Linked DNA regions of Homo sapiens: region 2 is linked to region 1. Evidence: promoter capture Hi-C in 16 types of primary human blood cells and fetal thymus (Javierre and others, 2016). All regions are on one chromosome and are shown on one strand. Each heading gives the region's core, a stretch centred on a gene start or on the middle of the fragment in contact. The rest is flanking DNA. Distances are from core to core; before and after follow the strand shown. Region 1 holds the start of SSTR4 (somatostatin receptor 4). Region 2 overlaps LOC107985449 (a long non-coding RNA gene).

Region 1 (2,786 bases), core at 95-2,594:
CTATGGGGCTGCACTGGTGCTGATCATGCCCGTGCTCCCATCCCACACCTGGATAAACAGCAGTGGGCAGCTTCCCCCACCCCCCAGTCTTAGAAAGGCCTCCTCCAGTTGCAACAGGACTCCCTCCTCCCCATCGCTGTCCCAGCCACCCAGCGGAAAGCTGAGACCCCACCCCCCAGGTGGCCAATTTTAGACCCACTAAAGGCCTTTCTGGGCTGTACTGGGGGCTAAAGGGGGCCACCATCCCACAGAGAAGGGGCCAAAGACAGCCAGGATCCTAAAAGTCAGAGCTACTTTAAGAATAACTTTCCCAGGCCAATCCCCAGTTCAGGAACGTTCCTGTGCCCTGTGCCAGCTAGAGGGACTAGGGCTGGAGCCGGCGGCTGCTCCTGGGTGTCCAGTCCAGGAGCCAGTGAACTCACTATCTCTGGAGTTTAGCAGAAGAAGGGTAATTCCAGGCCGGAACCCCTTTCTTTCCCGACCTCTCGACCACAGTCCTCCCCAGGCACATTTTAGTGGCCAGGGATGGAGACCCGCGGATAATGACTGAACCAGGTCACAGGGTGAAGGTTCTGAGATGTCCGGCTCCCGTAGCTTCTGCCAGTTCCCGAGGGAGCTAGCACAGGCTTGGCCTTCTTTGGTGGCATCTCTGCCTCCACCTGTCCGTCTCCATTCCTTGTGCCCATAGCACCTCAGCTGCTCGGACACAGAAGTTAAAAGGTCCGGCATCTGCACTTGTCCAGAGTGGGTTGGGGAGCAGAGAAAGGAGTGGTGAGCTGTGGGGAAAACTGGACATCCTGACAGACCTGAAATTCACCAAGCCGCCAGTGGAAGCCTCAGGTTCCGCCTCTATAAAAGGGACTCAGCCATGTGCAAGGATGGGTCGTCGCGAGGATTAAAGGGCAGGGTGAGGGGATGTCAAGTGCAAGGCAAGTGGTCCAAGCTTCCAGGTGGTCCCTGACCAGTTCCGGGCACATCTTTACCCAAAGGGAGGACTCCGGGACCCCCAGCCCCGCCGCCGCAGACCCCCTGTAGCAAAGCAGGGAACTGGACCTCAAAGGGCTGCTGGGGAAGACGGGATCTGAATAGAGGTCTGAAGGAAAGAAGCCAGGCGGGGGACCCCGGGAGGGCCGGACGGGGCTGGGGGTGCTGTTGACACTGGAGCCGGACTGGAGACCTGGGAACCTGGGGCAGAGTCGGCAGCGGGGAGGGGGCGACCGAGGTGGGAAAACGGGGCGGGGCCGGAGACGACTCCAGGGCTGGGTGAGGCGCTGACCCCCAGGAGCTGGGGTGCCGAGGGGCGCGGGCCACAGCGGTGCGAGCCAGTCGGGCGCCCGCGCGGTGGGGCGCGCGGCGCGGGGATTGGCGGGCGCTCCCCGGTGCCCGCAGCTCTTCAGCGTAGCCGGGAAGAGCCGCGCGTCTGCGCGCCAGCCCCCGCCCTGGGCCCGCCGCCCGAGCTCTCTGGCGCAGCGCTAGCTCCGCCGCGCTCAGCTGCCCTGCGCCGGCACCCCTGGTCATGAGCGCCCCCTCGACGCTGCCCCCCGGGGGCGAGGAAGGGCTGGGGACGGCCTGGCCCTCTGCAGCCAATGCCAGTAGCGCTCCGGCGGAGGCGGAGGAGGCGGTGGCGGGGCCCGGGGACGCGCGGGCGGCGGGCATGGTCGCTATCCAGTGCATCTACGCGCTGGTGTGCCTGGTGGGGCTGGTGGGCAACGCCCTGGTCATCTTCGTGATCCTTCGCTACGCCAAGATGAAGACGGCTACCAACATCTACCTGCTCAACCTGGCCGTAGCCGACGAGCTCTTCATGCTGAGCGTGCCCTTCGTGGCCTCGTCGGCCGCCCTGCGCCACTGGCCCTTCGGCTCCGTGCTGTGCCGCGCGGTGCTCAGCGTCGACGGCCTCAACATGTTCACCAGCGTCTTCTGTCTCACCGTGCTCAGCGTGGACCGCTACGTGGCCGTGGTGCACCCTCTGCGCGCGGCGACCTACCGGCGGCCCAGCGTGGCCAAGCTCATCAACCTGGGCGTGTGGCTGGCATCCCTGTTGGTCACTCTCCCCATCGCCATCTTCGCAGACACCAGACCGGCTCGCGGCGGCCAGGCCGTGGCCTGCAACCTGCAGTGGCCACACCCGGCCTGGTCGGCAGTCTTCGTGGTCTACACTTTCCTGCTGGGCTTCCTGCTGCCCGTGCTGGCCATTGGCCTGTGCTACCTGCTCATCGTGGGCAAGATGCGCGCCGTGGCCCTGCGCGCTGGCTGGCAGCAGCGCAGGCGCTCGGAGAAGAAAATCACCAGGCTGGTGCTGATGGTCGTGGTCGTCTTTGTGCTCTGCTGGATGCCTTTCTACGTGGTGCAGCTGCTGAACCTCTTCGTGACCAGCCTTGATGCCACCGTCAACCACGTGTCCCTTATCCTTAGCTATGCCAACAGCTGCGCCAACCCCATTCTCTATGGCTTCCTCTCCGACAACTTCCGCCGATTCTTCCAGCGGGTTCTCTGCCTGCGCTGCTGCCTCCTGGAAGGTGCTGGAGGTGCTGAGGAGGAGCCCCTGGACTACTATGCCACTGCTCTCAAGAGCAAAGGTGGGGCAGGGTGCATGTGCCCCCCACTCCCCTGCCAGCAGGAAGCCCTGCAACCAGAACCCGGCCGCAAGCGCATCCCCCTCACCAGGACCACCACCTTCTGAGGAGCCCTTCCCCTACCCACCCTGCGTGGCCACCTCCCAAGGGGTGGGCACCATTCCTACAGCCCCGAAGACTGCATCTCCTGAATGCTCACCTAAGCTCCAC
Region 2 (2,786 bases), core at 186-2,685, 100 kb before region 1:
TAAGATGAACAAGGAAACCTGCCCCATGAAAAAGACCACCGACAGAATGTAATCAAACAATAATAAAAGCTTAAATAATCACAATATAAACACTACTATTAACAAATAGCTCGTCTATAAAATATACAGTGATAAATTTCATTTTCCTCCAGATTTCCTCAAGTGTATTCCCGGGAAAACAAAGTATTTCTCTTATCTCAAATAAGGCATAAGCATGTTGAACAAGGCTAAGGGGGGCAGAACACGAGGCCAGGAGATCGAGACCATCCTGGCTAACACAGTGAAACCCCGTCTCTACTAAAAATACAAAAAAATTAGCCGGGCCTGGTGGCGGGCGCCTGTAGTCCCAGCTACTTGGGAGGGTGAGGCAGGAGAATGGCGTGAACCCGGGAGGCGGAGTTTGCAGTGAGCCGAGATTGCGCCACTGCACTACAGCCTGGATGACAGAGCGAGACTCCATCTCAAAAAAAAAAAAAAAGCGTGGACTTGCGGTGAGCCTGGCTGTTGCGCTGTCTGTGCTAGGAACAGTCTCACTGCTGTTCTGTTGAACATGGTGTCACTGTAATTTACGATAAATATCCTTTATCATGTTGAGGGCTTTCCTTTCTGCTTTCTGGTATGTATTATTATGAGAAATAAATATTGAATGTATTATATGATTTCTCAAAATTCTTTAAAAAAATTTCCTCTTTATCCTCTTGATGAATTGCGGTAGGTTAAACAGAAGTTAAACATTGACCCTGCCTCTTTTTCCTGAAAGAAACTCTATTTGATTAAAATATGATTCTTTTCATATAATGCTAGTTTTGATGTACTAGTATTCTATTTATTGTTTTTGCCTTTGTATTCATATGTGAAACTAGCTTTTAGTTTTCTGTTTTGGGGGGAATTAGTTTGTTCAGGTTTCACTGTTAGTTCATATGCTCATAAAATGAATAGTTCCAGAGCAGTTTATCATGTAAAGAAATAATCTATTCCCAGATAAAACTTTTCTATAAAACGATCTAGACATGGAACCTTTTGAAGAAATAGATTTGGACACTTTTCAGCCTTTGCTACAGTGATTGATCTGTGTACTTTTTAGCTTCTTGTTGGGTAAAATTTTGGTAATTTATGATTTCCTAAAGAAGCATTAAATTCTTGTGAATTTTAAAACGTTCCGGATGACATTTATATAAAATATTCTTTTAAAGAATACTTTATATCTACCCTCACATTTATTTTCTGCTTTGTGGTGTTGTCTGTTGTGCTGTCCATATTTTTCCTAAAGAGATGTGTAAGAGGCTGATTTATTTATTGGTCTTTCCTGGAAAGAGGATTTGGATTCATTTATCAGTTCTACTGTTTGCTTATGTGGGTATTTTTGGTGATTTTAAGTTAGGTAATGACTACTTGGTGTTTATAAATTCTTTCCTCTAACTTCCTTTGGTTCATTTTGTTGTACAATTCTTCATTCTTAAGCAACTTTTGGTTAATATATTTTTAAACATTTCTCCTCATTAACAAAAATATTGAATGCTATGGGTTTTCTTTATAATTTTGGACCAACATATAGTGTTCTCATTGTCTTTAACTTCTAACAAAGCCATAATTTTAGTTGTCATGTCTAGCTTAACCTAAGGTTTTTTTTTAAGTTATTATTTTTAACTTGGGGTGGTTATATTGGTGATAGAGGAAGGGGACACGGGAAATTTTACTTTTATTTTCTAATTGTATTAGTCAAGGTTCTCCAGAGAAACAGAACCAATCGGCCTGAGAACAAAGAGAGTTCAGGTTGCAAGTTCCAGTCTGAGTCCAAAGGCCAGAACCAGGAGAGCTGATGGCATCAGTCCCAGACCAAGAGCCGGAGGAAGCCAGTATCCCAGCGCAAGCAGCCAGGCAGACAGAACAAACTCCTTCCCCGGCCTTTTTGTTCTATTTGGGTTCTCTGTGGTTGGACTGGAAGATGCACACCCTTATTGGGTAGGGCAATCTTCTCTACTCAGTCTATCAATTCAAATGTGAGTCTCATCTAGAAACTCCCTCTCAGATATACCCAGAAATAAAACCCCATGGCCCAGTTCAGTTGACACATAAAGTTAACTATTACACTAGTTTAATTGCACTGTGATTAGAGAATACCACTCTTTGAGGCTTTCTTGAAATTTCCTTTGGCTCTAAAACATGATCAATTTTTGCCAATGTTTCATGAGCATTTGCAAAATGTATTCTCTCATCAGCAAAAATGCTAAAAGTATCTCTTAAATAAAGTATGCTAATGCAGTTTTTAAGTGATCTGCATTTTTATTTATATTTAGCAATATGTTTGGCCACTCCTGCAAGGAGTTTGTTAAACACTGTGCCTCTATCTTGTTTTTATGAGGTTCTTACATTTCTAACAGTCATTGCTGCAGATGCGTCACTGACATTTATACATGCACTTATACATAAACATTCAAGAGCTTTTCATTCTCTCGGTAGATTTTACCTTTGACTTTAAATGATACCTCATGTGATATCAATATTGATGTTGCTGCTTTCTTTTTGTGGTATTTTCTTTGTCCATCCTTTAAATTTCTTTGTTCAATTTCTAAACTTATTTCTATCTAAAAATAATATAGTGGTTAACAGTGAGGCCTCTGGAATCTAATTATCCAATTCCCCAGCTCCAGGGTATTACTGTGGCCACTTTTCCATCTGACTGTGTCCCTGTTGAGACAGTGTATGTGAAAGTGTGTGGGAAAATGCCTAGTGTATAGTATGCACTGAATACATTTTACCTGTCATTCTTTTTATTACTTTTAATT

Evidence for each region. The method cuts DNA at HindIII sites, captures the fragments that hold promoters and counts their contacts. A CHiCAGO score of 5 or more calls a contact.
Region 2: a contact is called between a fragment that was not itself captured here and the fragment with the promoter of SSTR4 in region 1, in 1 of 17 cell types (neutrophils). The highest score is 5.4, in neutrophils.

What each region holds. Positions count from the first base shown.
Region 1 is chr20:23,033,968-23,036,753 of GRCh38, forward strand. SSTR4 (somatostatin receptor 4) reads left to right here and starts at 1,345. Exons shown (of 1, transcript NM_001052.4): 1 at 1,345-2,786. The coding sequence starts at 1,517. The coding sequence ends at 2,683. RefSeq lists an enhancer at 1,886-2,432. The HindIII fragment of the contact is 5,481 bases long and covers 942-2,786 here.
Region 2 is chr20:22,930,041-22,932,826 of GRCh38, forward strand. All of the region lies in intron 1 of LOC107985449 (a long non-coding RNA gene), which reads left to right. Among named protein-coding and RNA genes, the nearest start is that of SSTR4, 100 kb to the right of the region's middle. The HindIII fragment of the contact is 2,736 bases long and covers 68-2,786 here.